2 separate regions of the Homo sapiens genome follow, and region 2 is linked to region 1. Evidence: promoter capture Hi-C in human tissues and cell types (Jung and others, 2019). All regions are on one chromosome and are shown on one strand. Each heading gives the region's core, a stretch centred on a gene start or on the middle of the fragment in contact. The rest is flanking DNA. Distances are from core to core; before and after follow the strand shown. Region 1 holds the start of MYO3A (myosin IIIA). Region 2 has its middle 57 kb from the start of MYO3A.

What was found. Contacts are between HindIII fragments. The study calls those that stand out against the background at their distance.
Region 2: a contact is called between a fragment that was not itself captured here and the fragment with the promoter of MYO3A in region 1, in 1 of the 25 tissues and cell types used here (spleen).

Annotation. Positions count from the first base shown.
Region 1 is chr10:25,928,312-25,935,588 of GRCh38, reverse strand. It overlaps MYO3A (myosin IIIA), which reads right to left and starts at 1,360. Exons shown (of 35, transcript NM_017433.5): 1 at 1,261-1,360. It overlaps LOC101929073 (a long non-coding RNA gene), which reads left to right and starts at 1,879. Exons shown (of 4, transcript NR_120650.1): 1 at 1,879-2,035; 2 at 3,228-3,281. The HindIII fragment of the contact is 12,658 bases long and covers 1-7,277 here.
Region 2 is chr10:25,873,363-25,880,639 of GRCh38, reverse strand. No RefSeq gene overlaps it. Among named protein-coding and RNA genes, the nearest start is that of MYO3A, 57 kb to the left of the region's middle. RefSeq lists a silencer at 4,796-4,975. The HindIII fragment of the contact is 5,454 bases long and covers 1,513-6,966 here.

The DNA of each region.
Region 1 (7,277 bases), core at 111-2,610:
ACAAGGAACTTAAAGCCCCTCATTTCATATGCTGGCATTAAACAACTCTCAAGCTACCAGATCCGTCTGAATTATAAAAATGCTTAAGAAGGTTTAAGTGCACCTGTACAATTAGTTAATTCACCAAGAAAACTAGAAACAACCAGAAATGAAGATTCTTTTGAGTTTTCAAAAACGCTTAGTGTGTAGGGTTCAGTGGCATTACAACAGTCATTTCAAGGCTTATGGCCAATTTCCATTCTAACAATAATAAAATTTTTTTTCTGGAAGGGGGATAGTAGCAAGGTGCGAGTTAGCAACTACTTGGAGAACAGAACAGAGCTGTTGGTGAGCAGACTTGAAAGGACATCCTTTCCTGGTAGGTTTCTCTATTTCTCAATAATGATCATACTTTTCTTGTCTGCTCTTTCTCCTTAAAATTAAAACTCCTTTACGGATGCATTTGGGGTTGCAGGGAGCCCAGCTCCACCGACCTGCTTGTTCTGAGAAATCACCCGGAACGCAGTTCCCTCAGGGACGGGCCGACCCAGCGCCACCTGTGGGCGGCGCCGCAAAGCCCGCGCGCGCCACAGGTCTCCGAGGCGACACCCGCCAGACTCGGCGCCTCCTCCCTCCAGTCTCCCTGCAGGGCCCCCTCAGTTCTCGCCCCTCGTTACTCTTCGAGGTCCTCCCCTTACGTTTCCTTCCCAAGTTCACCCCTAAAGATCTTCCTTCACCCCTTACGCCACCCTTCCCGTTCCCTCCTCCTGTTTCCACTTCACGTTCACCCCTCCCGTTCCCTCCTCAAGTTCATTCCTCACGTTCCCTCCTCGAGATCCCCCCTCACTATCCCCTCGCGTTCCCTCCTCGGGTTCACCCACAAGATCTTCCCTCAAGTCCACCCCTCAGGTTCACCCTTCCCGTTCCCTCCTCCTGGCTCCCCCTCGAGTTCACCCCCGCCCCCGTTTCCCCCTCAAGTTCATCCCTCTCCTCCCCTCGAGCTCTCCCATCCAGCTCGTTCAAGCCTCACATTCCCCCTCTTGGTTTCCCGCTCTACTTCTCCCCTCGAGTCCCCTCTCTCACCCCAGGCCCCGACAAACACACAGGTCCTCCGGATCTGACCTGGGCGGGCGGGCGGTCGCGGCAGCCTCGCGCTCAGAGAGCCCCGGGCCCGCCCTGCAAGCCCCGGGGTCCAAGGAAGCGGGGCCGTTTCCAGCGCCGCGCGGGCGCCGCTACCCACCGCCGCCCCAAGCCAGTCCCCTGCGCTGTCCCGACACGTACCTGGGCGGGAAGCCGGGCGCCTCCTTATTTCTTTACGGGGGCGCTGGCTACGGGCGCTCCCTCGAGGGGCGGGCAGGGGCAGCCGAGCAGGGGAAGAACTGGGCCGCCTGTAGAGGGCGGGCCGAAGGTCGGCGGGAGGATCTGACCTGGGTCAACCGAGCCGAAGGGGCCCCTTATCCCGGCTCGCGGGGAATATTCTTCCTCTCGCCGCTCTCTCCACTGCCCGCAGGTGGAGGCCGCGCCATCCGCGCCATCCACATCCTCGCAGGGCCCTTGGCTGGCTGCCGAGGGGCTTCCCGGGACTCCGGCCGCGCTTCCTTGGCCCGGAGCCCGGCGAGAAGGGAGTGGGGCCCCTGGATCCTGGAGCCCTCATGGACTGGCCCAGTGCCTGGAGCAAATTCTGCTCCCGGCCCCGCGTAGTATCTTCCTCCCAGGAAATTCCCCACACTACGAGGGTCTCGGACCCGGAAAATGTAATGGGTTTCAGGTCCAAGAGGGATAGTGAGTGGCTAATGAGATCGCTCCCAGGGTCCAGTTCCCTTTTGCAGACTGCTAAGGAGTTTGGGGCTGGGGCTGAAGTTAAAGGCAAGAACTTCTACCCTCGGGAGGCAGCCCGTTAGTCACCAACCCTCTACTTGGTCCTTTGCAATCCTTTCCAGACCTTCTGTGGTCTCCTGTCACACAGGGCTCACCTGGGGGGACCCTGATGGCCAGATTCTCTTGAACAGTCTCTAGGGACATATTGGGTATTGCTATACCTTCATCCATTGAACAGGTGAGAACTACAACCAAAACATCCTTTGATTCTGTTAATTATCTCAATGGGTCTGTCGTTCATGTTATCTAAATGAGAATTATAGAAGAGACCAAAGAGAGGTCATCTAATCCTAATCAATGCATATCTTAAGGAAAAAATGTGATGTTAAAAATCTGTTTCAAAAGGTCATTCAGTATATTCAAGACCCTTCCTCTTAAAGTAGCTTTAAAATTTAGAAATTGGGCCGGGCGCGGTGGCTCACGCCTGTAATCCCAGCACTTTGGGAGGCCGAGGCGGCCGGATCACAAGGTCAGGAGATCGAGACCATCCTGGCTAACACAGTGAAACCCCGTCTCTACTAAAAAATACAAAAAAATTAGCCGGGCATGGTGGCAGGCCCCTGTAGTCCCAGCTACTTGGGAGGCTGAGGCAGGTGAATGGCGTGAACCCAGAAGGCAGAGTTTGCAGTGACGGAGCCGAGATCACGTCACTGCACTCCAGCCTGGGCGATAGAGCGAGACTCCGTCTCGAAAAAAAAAAAAAAAAAAATTAGAAATTGAATAGTGGACTTGTAATAGGGATTATATTGAATCAAAAGCCTAACATATATGAACAGCTTCAAATCAAGAAGTTATCTCATCAAAAACAGATCACAGCAAATATATTATTCAACATAATTATGGCCATTTGGACATACCTGGGAGATTTTAAGAATTAGAGCAACTGAGTGCTCACATGCAAAATAAAGTCACAATCTCAATAGAGACAAACAACACCCAATTAAAATACAATAGAAAAATAGATCCCATTCACAATAGAAGCATGAAAGAACATGAAATAACTAAGAATGATAAAAAATGAGAAATATAGGAGAAAAGTGGGAAAAAATTTAAAAATGCAGGATTGTTGACAGACTATTTATAATTGGAAAGACACTGGAATCCTAAGTTAGAAGACAAGATGTTAAACACATAATTACTACCTCCCAAATTAAGAGACAAATATATTCTAGAATTCATATGAAAACTACAGAAGCTAGAAGAGCTAAGTCCAGTGGTTCTCAGAGTGTGGTCTAGGGGAAATTTGTTGGGGGTCAGGGGGCGGTCTCTGAAACCATTTCGGGAGGTTCACAGGACCAAAATTACTTTAATAATAAGACTTTTTTCCACTCCTTTTTCTCTCCCATTTTTTAAATGAATTTATGATGAAGTTTTCCAGTGGCTCCATAATATGTGATATCACAACAGATTGAATGCAGAAACAGGTAACGTCTTCTGTTATGCCAGACATTAAAGAAATGTGCAAGAATATAAAATAATGCCATTCTTACCATTAAACTTTTTTGGTTTTGGAAAATACAGGTATTTTTCACTTAAAAATATGCTATTCATGTTAACATGTAATGAGCTTAGTAGTGAAATATATTTTTAAAATTTCTCAGTTTTAATTGCTATAACATAAAAGTTCTTTGGAGTCCTCAAAACTTTTTAAGAGTGTAAATAAAGGAAGGTTCTAAGACAAAAAAAATTGAGAACTTTTTTTTTTTTTTTTCTTTGAGACGGAGTCAGTCTCACTCTGTTGCCAGTCTGGAGTGCAGTAACACGATCTCGGCTCACTGCAACCTCCGCCTCCCAGGTTCAAGTGATTCTCCTGTCTCAGCCTCCCGAGTAGCTGAGACTACAGGCACCGCCACCATGCCCAGCTAATTTTTGTATTTTTAGTAGAGACAGGGTTTCACCATGTTGGGCAGGATGGTCTCGATCTCCTGACCTTGTGATCCACCCACCTCAGCCTCCCAAAGTGCTGGGATTACTGGTGTGAGCCACTGCCTCCAGCCCTGAGAACCTTTTGATAAGGCAATGAAAAAAGAAACATGTAATTAAGCTATAATAATGAAAAGAATGGCATTAACACGGAATAGAATAGTGTGTCCAATCCAACCAGCCTAAGACCATCAAGGACAAAACCTGCAGTCCCACAAAGTCAGGTTCATTGACTCAATGTTACAGTAGAGATACTGCAAACTAGAGGAACCATGAAGTGGAGTTTTGATAGGCTCAAAGCAAAGCAGAGCTGGGAGTCAACATGAGGTTTGGGCTGTGACCAAGGGTTCTGTTTCCTTGGATAAATGTGGAATGCTGTCTTGGGAAACTCCTTATCTGAAGCTCTGTACTTGAGTTGTAAATCGGGGCCATGTCTCTGTTGTCAAAGTGAGTTAGATCCTACAAGCAATTATGGGAGGTTTCATTTTTACTGACATAATTTCAAAAATCAAATTTTCTGATAGTCTATGAGCATAGGAAGCAAGATTTTCCAATGAGTTAGAAAGAAGTAGTCACTCAAAAAAGGGGACTGTTGTTGACATTTCACAGCACAGCCTGCCCTTGGAAGAAGCATGGTGTCCTGTTCATCTTACACCTGGCAATATCAACTTTTTTTTTTTTTTTAAGTTTTTGTTTTTCCTTATGTTGCTCAGGCTGGTCTCAAACTCCTGGGTGCAAGAGATCCTCTCATCTCAACCTTCTGAGTATCTGGGACTACGGGTGCGTGCCACAGTCCAGCCTCATTCCAGTTTTAACCGACTCATCTACTTCTTGGCAAAAAGACTCAGAGAAAGCAGAACTGGGCCGAGCAAGGTGGCTCATGCCTGTAATCCCAGCTACTCAGGAGGCTGGGGAGGTGGAGCAATCTCAGTGAGCGAAGATCGCGCTTCTGCACTGGATGACAAAGCGAGACTCCATCTCAAAAAAAAAAAAAAAAAAGAGAGAGAGAGAGAAAAAAAAATGAGTGCACTTGCCAGGAGCAAACTTCCACCTTGTAGACTAATGGCGTCTCATCAGTTAGCCCAGCACAAGTGACCCAGTGATCTGGGAGATCAATTAAGGGAAGAAAGATTGCTCATTCCTGCTTTCTGAGCTTCATAAACCCTACCTTGTGATATTTGTACATGAACTGCAGCCCAATCAAATTAGTTCTCAAATTTAGCCTTATCTCTCTATTCTGCTGATATTGCCTTATTTAGGCCTTCGCCATCCTAGAGTATTCCAGATGTTTCCTAATTTTTCTACTGCCTTGCCCTCTCCACTTTATAATAAGTCAAATCAAATATATTACTCAAGCCCCTTGTAGGAAGACTCCATGCATTTATGATTATGCCTGGGTGGTGACCCTCTCAGGCAAGAAAACAGAGTAAATCGCCTTTAGGTCTAAAAGTTCTCTCTTTTAAAAGTGCAAACTTTCTTTTAGTGCATTATTTCATTTTATATGCATAATGTCCCTCTTTAATGGAAATACCTGTAAGGTAGGTGTCTCTATTTACTAATAAGGAAACTGAAGGGAGGAATCAATGATTTCTCAAAGGCCACCATCTTAGTAATCACCTCTTTATCACACTAAATTCCAAAAGTTACCACCTCTGTAAATGCTCAAATTAGAGTTTGATTCTCACAGAGCTATCAAGGATGAAAACATGATGCTTCAAATGATCTAAACCCCACTGAACTAGCTTCCCAGTGATGGGCCAAGAATGGGCTTCGGCCTTCCTGTGTCCTAAGGACTTTCTTAGGACTTTCTCTCTTTTCTGTATCCACATTGAATTCCCACTCCCTTTTATACTTACTGAACCATTATAATCTTAGTTGTGATATGCTTGACTGTTCTTTTCCTAGGAAAATGCATTTGCCGGAGTTAGTATGATGGATATAGTAGACCACTTTTAAGGAATCCATCCCTCCATTTCTTATTCATTACTCAATTAATATTTACTGGGTACTTCTAGGTGCTGCAACTGTTCTAGGCATTGAATTTGAAACCCGTCTTTGCCACATATAACTATAAAATGTTTGGAAAATTGCCTTCTATATGTGCTGATACTCCAAGATGGAAGATTACCAATATAAGTGATATTCAGTTAAAACCTACACATTCTTTCACTACTAACCTTATCTAAATCATCTGATCATTTGCATTATTAACTTTTTAGAACACGTGGCTCAGGTGTTTTCTTGATTATTATTTTGGGCACTTTTAGCTGGTTGTGCCTTTATTGTCAGTTTTGCGGCTATCAGGACCTCAAAACATTTACATATACATACTACTCATTCAAATACATCAAAATGATCATCTTACATCTATTCAGGCAGGAGTCCAAGATTTGACTTACATAGTTGTTAGTAAAATATTCCACATTTTAAGATCTTATTGGTGGCCTCTACTTGATGTTTCTCTATTAATTTTGAACTTTTGTCATTGTTTTGCTGTTATGTTACTGTGTGGGAGGGAGGAATTGTATAATTTCACTATATAATTTAACTGAAATGTGCACTTTTGTCAAGTGTATGCAAACTGTTTCATATAGCACCTACTGCATAGGCTTTATTTTCCTACTGATCTGTACATTTCGGGCAGTGCTACAATGAATAGAATGGAAGAATAGGTCTCATTTGCTGTAGAGTGAATTTGTGTTTTTGCTATTTATTTCTTACCTTGACCTAAATTCATTTATTATCAGATACTTCCATTGAATCTCATGATTGACACAATAACATTTCAAATAATTGTTATTAGAATGTAAATATTTGGTTTGGATTCTTAACTGGAAATAAAGCTGCAGATTAAAAGTAGTTTCATTCTAAAAGGTGTGTTTTCCAAGAAAACTTAATGAAGACCATAAATAAGACAAGTTTATAATCCACACATTTTGGGGATAGAGAGAAGGGACAAGCATTGAGAAAACACAGTAGGGTGTAAAACCTCTTTAAGGCTGGGAGCAGTGTCTCACGCCAGTAATCCCAGCACTTTGGGAGGCTGAGACAAGCGGATTGTTTGAGCTCAGAAGTTTGAGACCAGCCTGGGCAACATGGCGAAACCCCATCTCCAGCAAAAAATACAAAAAATTAGCCAGGCATGGTGGTGCATGCCTGTAGTCCCAGCTACTCAGAGGCTGAGGTGGCAGGATAACTTGAGCCTGCTAGTTGCAGTGAGCCAAGATCATGCCACTACACTCCAGTCTTGGTGACAGAGTGAGACTCTTATCTAAAAAAAAAAAAAAAAAAAAAAACCTCTTTAAAAAGTAAAGTGGATGTGGGCCGGGTGCGGTGGCTCACGCCTGTAATCCCAGCACTTTGGGAAGCTGAGGCGGGTGGATCACGAGGTCAGGAGTTCGAGATCAGCCTGACCAACATGGTGAAACCCCATCTCTACTAAAAATACAAAAATTAGCCAGGTGTGGTGGCACACACCTGTAATCCCAGCTACTCGG
Region 2 (7,277 bases), core at 2,990-5,489, 58 kb after region 1:
TGTAGAAAGGACAGATACATCCTGCTATAGTCAATAGAATATATACAGCCATGAGAATGGATAAACCATTACTACATGCATGAGCATGGATGAATTGCCCAGGCATAATATTAAGCAAAAGGTGAGACACTAAAGAGTATATGCTTTTATGATTCCTTTTTATAAAGTTTAAAATAGGCAAAACAAATGCATAGTCACAGAATTCAAAAGAGTGCTTCCCTTTGGGATGGGGAAGTTCCTGGGAAAGCTCTGATCCCACCTACTAAAATATACCCAAACATGTTTTCAGATAAGACCTTCATGGGGTGAGATCTATCCCTCTAAACCCTGAGGGCTTCCAAGTATCTCAGAATCAGTCTCGTTGGCATTCCTATTTTCATTCTTGTCTTTCACAACAAAACCAACCGTCATCCTGAGCATACCGACACGGGCAGCAGCTCCTTCCTCTGGTTCACCCCAAATCCTAAACGCCACACGGATTTCCTGTTCTCAGCTCCATGTCTTCAGATGTGGGCAGGCTGCTGGGCTCTCCTGCCTTCTGGTTCTCACTGAACTTTGCTCTTCCTCTTCCAATTCCTCAGTGCACTCATTTCCATTTGGCTGTTGGACTCACCCTTCCTCCAGCTGATGCTGCTCTCTGGCCTGGTCAAGACTTAACTGCCAATACCTCTCCCTCTCCCAGAACTGCACCCCCCTTTCTTCAGGGATCTGCCTCTCATTCCTAGTATTGTCTGGCTTATCCTTTGTTAAAAATAACAAGGGTTTTCCAGGAGGCAGAGGTTGCAGTGAGCCGAGATCATGCCACTGTACTCCAGCCTGGGTGACGGAGACAGACCGTCTCTCCAAAACAATAAATAAATAAATAAATACTAGGGTTTTCATGCAATTTCTGCTAATTGTCAGAGTTAGGACAAAGGAATGAGATATCCAGAGGAGGTGTGGAGGAGAGGAAAGGCAGAGGGAGAAAGAATGCAGAGAGGACTGAAAGTGAGGTCCGAGAAGTCTGTCATTAGAATAAAGAGGAATTCAGTTTTCTAGTTCCTCAGTGAAATGAAGGATTATAAACTATCAAAACTGGATGAATTGGCCGGGAATGGTGGCTCATGCCTATTATCCCAGCACTTTGGGAGGCCAAGACAGGCAGATCACCTGAGGTCAGGAGTTTGAGGCCAGCCTGGCCAACATGGTGAAACCTGTCTCTACTAAAAATACAAAAAATTAGCTGGGTGTGGAGAAGCGTCCTCTTGGGAGCCTGAGGCAGGAGAATCGCTTGAAACCGGGAGGCAAAAGTTGCAGTGAGCTGTGATCTTGCCACTGCACTCCAGCCTGGGCAACAGAGACTCCATCTCAAAAACAAACAAACAAGCAAAACAACGACAACAACAACAAAAAACAGAGTGAATTACTACATGACATAGATTCCTTTAACCTTACTTAATAATATATATGTGATTCAAAATGATACAAGTTAGCATAAAAAAGCTCAAAATTTAGCTGTAAAAACTTAACTAAATTTGAAATGCATGAAATTACATGTTACCGTGGGACCCAAGGGATTACACGTTAACTATTGCATTTTGATCAGTTTTGACCACCATCCCTGGTTCAAACAAGGTATCATAATAAGGCAGTTGTGGAATTTAATCCTTTGAGCAGAGCTGCTTGTTCCTCTAAAGAGAGAGTGATAAAAAAGATTCTTCCCCTCTCAGAATGATTTTGAGACCCACGGCAGAAACCAAAGGGAGAATGTGTTCCCCACTTCCTCAATCTAATCAGTGCATGCTCCAAGAAATGAATGAAAACATAAAAGATTTATAGCAAAGAGCATCAAGCATCAAGCCAAGACTCCACAAAAATTAAGTGTAAAGAATCAAGGATTTCATGGAATTTTATATTTCCCTTTGTGTTCACTCTGGAGATAAGAGTGGTTTAGATTGTTATTAGAATTGTTGACATTTCAGTGATCATTTTCTAGGAAAATAACTTTTTCTGAAAGGCACATTCTATAGCACAGCAGTCCTCAACCTTTTTGGCACCAGGGACTGGGTTCATGGAAGACAATTTTTCCAGACAAGGGTGGGTGGTGGGGGGATGGTTTGGGGATGATCGAAGTGCATTACATTTATTGTACACTTTATTTCTATTATTATTACATTGTAGCATATAATACAATAATTATATAATTCACCGTAATGTAGAATCAGTGGGAACCCTGAACTTGTTTTCCTGCAACTAGACTATCCCATCTGGAGGTGATAGGGTCAGTGACAGATCATCAGGCATTAGATTCCCTTAAAGATTGTACAAACTAAATCCCTTGCACACATGGTTCTCAACAGGGTTCACGCTCCTATGAGACTCTAATGCTGCTGCTGATCTGACAGGAGGTAGGGCTCAGGTGGTACTGTGAGTGATGGGAAGCATCTCTAAATATAGAGGAAGTTTTGCTCACTTGCCCACCCTAACCTCCTGCTGTGCAGCCTGGTTCCTAATATGCCACAGATCAGGACGGATCTGTGCCCTGGGGGTTGGGGAGCCCTGCCACAGCAGACACTAAAAATAGAAACTTTTCTTCATATATATGTATATATCTCTATTATTGGCTCTGGCTCATATTCTTATGTATTTATTTATTTTAGACACAGGGTCTCACTGTTGTCCGGGCTGGAGTGCAGTGGTGTGATCATGGCTCACTGCAATCTTGAGCTCCTGGGCTCAAGGGACTCTTATGCTTCAGCCTCCCGAGCAGCCAAGACTATAGGCATGAGCCTCCAAGCCTGGTCTACATATTCTAACTGGTTTAAAAAAAAATGTTGCACTTAACTAGTTACTTTGAAATGACAGTTTACAATAATGGAATTTAATTTAGCATACAGTTATTTTAGCAGATACTGAGATAATAATTCATGACCTGGGAGATGTCCCTAAAACTAAACATTCCTTCAGAGCAGTTAACTATTCTATTGAAAAGACTAATTTTTAAAAAAGAACCTTGTGGCTAAGCAACACAAAGATTTAAACTCTATTGACTGTCTTAGTGTAAATTTTCACTTGCTCTTCATGTGGAATCATGAGAGTTTGTCAGATGGAGCTGAGACAGAAATAAAGGCTCATGTGGGAGGCTGAGGCTGCCAGTCAAAGGGCTCACTATTGACTCACTCCCACTGGGAGACTGGGATGCCAGGACCTTCCACAATTTGATTGTTCACTGGGTTCTAACACCAAACCCAAGTCCACTCTGTCCACCTTGGGGATCTCATTATTAGAACCATCTATCAGCTGCCTCACTTTGCCAACATTAACTAGAAATGTGATTTCAATTCTGTATATCAGAAATGCAATTAAAATACATTGATTTTATTAATGAGTTTCATATTTCACAAAAGATTTGATGGAAAACAGATTTTTTTGAGACATTTCAAGGACTTTTCATAAGATATAAGTCTTCCCCCAAATCTTTGAGATGTGTTTTTTATCCCCATTTTACAGTTGAGGAATTTAAAACTTGGGATATGATGATAGTTTGTATCTAACTCCAGATTTATTTATTTATTTATTTATTTATTTATTTATTTATTTATTTATTTATTTATTTTTGAGACGGAGTCTCGCTCTGTCGCCCAGGCTGGAGTGCAGTGGCGCGATCTCGGCTCACTGCAAGCTCCGCCTCCTGGGTTCACGCCATTCTCCTGCCTCAGCCTCTCGAGTAGCTGGGGCTACAGGCACCCGTCACCACGCCCAGCTAATTTTCTGTATTTTTATTAGAGACAGGGTTTCATCGTGTTAGCCAGGATCGTCTCGATTTCCTGACCTCGTGATCCGCCCACCTCGGCCTCCCAAAGTGCTGGCATTACAGGCGTGAGCCACCGCACCCGGCCAACTCCAGATTTATTTGACTCCAAAGTTTGTGTTCTTTCATTTATCCTTACTTTTCCTCAAAAGAAAGGAGGCTAAAGCTATTGACTAAAAGAATGTTTAGAGATTAACAAATGCATTTCAACCCTGTATCCAATTCCTGTTACTATTACCAAAGATCTGAACAACCACAGAAACAGCTTATAACCTACCAAAACTCCAGAAGCAGTAAGTAGCATTAACCTCAAACAGGGAATCCGAACAACAAAATTCCTCTATAAAATATTTAATGACATTTTAACTTAGCATATGAGTAGTAATTCTCCTGAGAATAAAGCTGTTGTCTTGGATGAATATCATACCAGATTTAACTTATTATATGAGTAGTAATTCTCCTGAGAATAAAGCTGTTGTCTTGGATGAATATCATACAGGAGGTTGCTTATGAAACTGACACCTGGAATCCACTCCCACACTTACCCATGTTGTTCCCTTTTATGTTGATGTTACAGCCAGTTAAAAACAATTCTATCTGGACAGGTAGGTATGGTTAATAGCTAAGGTATTGTTAGCCATTAACATTTTGTTTCAAATTAGATAACCAGATTAACAAACTGGCCACTTAATAAGCCCCTCCTAGGAAATAGAAGCTAGGACATGTTAATTTTGAGGGAAGAGGTCAGAAAATTAGCAGAACATTGAATAAGTTTGGGTGGAATTCTGCATTGAAAAATAATTCCTGATGTGAAGAAAGACTCCATAAACCTCCATTAAGATGCTCTTCAATTCTAACATTTTATAATAAAATAATGTTACAGACAAGTGAACATTTTTATAACCTCATTTTTCTTAGGGTCAATTTTGCATAAAAAGAAAGTAAATCAATACCAGTTTCTGAAATTTCGAATATAGGAAATCATGCAAACAAAAACTCCCGCCATAATCCCTTGACAATATCTCTTCTCAGTGTACCCAAGAAGGCCAAAGGGTACCGTGACTGTCGAGCACACCAAGCTCCACGCGCCCTCTAGTGCATCCCTCTGGAAATGCAGCTACTAGTCCTAAGCTTAGGTATTTTCTCTGTTAAGAAAACAATTTCCAGAGCAGCTGTACTTAAAATCTGTTTATCCTGCATAGCCAACTCACCCTGAGGTGTTTCTCCAGGGTTCACATAAATTCGTTAAGTTAACTTAATCATTTCCCATCTATTCTCAAAGTTGACTTACAAGAACTCATAAAATATGACAAAATTGAAAACATTAGGCTGCATTGGATGAGAAAAGATAACAAGGGTGAGGCAAAGTGATCAAGAAATTAAATCAAAATACATGTAAAATAACAACTGACCATCCTCCCATCGATGATATATTTAGCTGTGTATTAATCAGGATGCACCAGGTTCTACTATGGTAAAGACAGCTCCCAAATCTCAGGAGTTTTTGACAACAGTGCTTTAATTTCTCTTTCGTTACAGATCTCAGGCTTATTTTTGGTTTCTAAGCGAATGGAGCAGCCATTGTCACTCACACTGCCTGCCACCATGGCAGAGGGGAAGAGCTTTGAAAAATCTTGCATTAGCAATTAAATGCTCTGATCACATCATTTCTACTCACTCTCATTGGCCAGAACTTGCCTCATGTCTCTACCCACAAGAGAGGGGAAAAGTCAGGTCTTCCATGTGTAAGGAGAGGAGGCAGAAATTTGTGGACAGCTGAAAGCCCACTACAGCGTTCCCAGGCAGGGTCAAAAAGGAAACCAGAACAGATCTGACTCAGAGTGTTCATGAAATTAAAAGCAAATACAACAGCTCAGTAAAATTCCAAGTCTTTTTGATTCTAGGGTCAGACAAGAATTTCTCCAGGATTCCTCATAGGACAAGGTATAACATAAATCATGTCATCATAATGCATTTGTGGCCTTTTCTTATAAGGCTCTTGTATAGGTTTATGACATTACAATAATCTACAGTTTGTCTAAACAATACTCTCTGGAAGAGTCGAATTATAGGTATCTTCCTCTTTGCTAAACTTCTGCATCAGAGACATATGTAAGCATTCCACCTTGCACACTGTGTTTAGTTATTTGAAGGGCAGTGAACACTAGGTTGTGTTCTCGAGGAAGCTTCTGGACAAGAGCTAGTTCTTTGCTTATAGGTGAGAACCAACTCACCTTCCTTCTCCCTTCCCTTCCCATCCCTTCCCTTCCCTTCCCTTCCCTATCCTTCCCCTCCCTTCCCCCTTCCCTTCCCTTCCCTTCCCTTCCCTTCCCTTCCCTTCCCTTCCCTTCCCTTCCCTTCCCTTCCCTTCCCTTCCCTTCCCTTCCCTTCCCTTCCCTTCCCTTCCCTTCCCTTCCCTTCCCTTCCCTTCCCTTCCCTTCCCTTCCCTTCCCTTCCCTTCCCTTCCCTTCCCTTCCCTTCCCTTCCTTTCCTTTCCTTTCCTTTCCTTTCCCTCCTCTCTTCTTCTCTTCTCTTTTTCTTTTTCTTGACAGGGTCTTGGTCTGTCTGCCAGGCTGAAGTGTGCCATCATAGCTCACTGCCAGCAACGTCAAACTCCTAGGCTCAAGTGAACCTCTCACCTCAGCCTCCCAAGTAGTTAGGACTACAGGCTCATGCCTGGCTAATTTTTTAATTCTTTTTTTTTTGTAGAGACTGGGTCTCACTATGTTGCCCAGGCTGTTCTCAAGCAATCCTCCCTCCTTGGCCTTCCAAAGCACTGGGATTACAGGCATGACCCACTGCATCTGGTTCCAAATTATCTTTCTTAATCATGATCAACTAAGGGTTGGTTAAGATCCAAATATGGAAACTGAGGAGCCAAGAGGGGCTCTTTCGTAACCAGAATCCATGCTAGTGTTCTGAGGTGAGCTGAGAGAGGAACCAAAATTTGGGCCAAGATCGTTTCCAGACAGTTCTGAATTTTTCTAATTGTACAGATAAGTGGTCAATTAATAGATTTTCCATGGTTCTATTTCATTGCCAGGGGCAAAATAGTTTTAGCCTGAAATTTGTAAGACAAGGCATAACTAGACCTTCATTTCAGCCACCTTAAACTACCATCCGAATGCCCAGGTTTGAACAATTCTACTTCTAGAAGAATCCACAATAAAACAAATGTTTGAGAAGGCTTTCCATCCTGAACTTTTATAATAAAATAATGTCACAAATTTTATAATAAAATAATACTATTTTATTAATAATAATTTTGCCTAGGAATTCTATGTATTACCAATTTAAAAGCTGGAGACTTGTCTTCTAAAACAATAATAATAATAAACTTTAATTGACTGTTTGCTGTGGCCAAGCAGTGTGGTAAGTAAGCACTTCAAATGTAGTATCTCATTTAATTTTACGGGCAAAATCTGTTACTACTCCTAATCTACAGATGAGGTAGAGTGAGGTCATATAATTTGTCTAAGGTCAAACA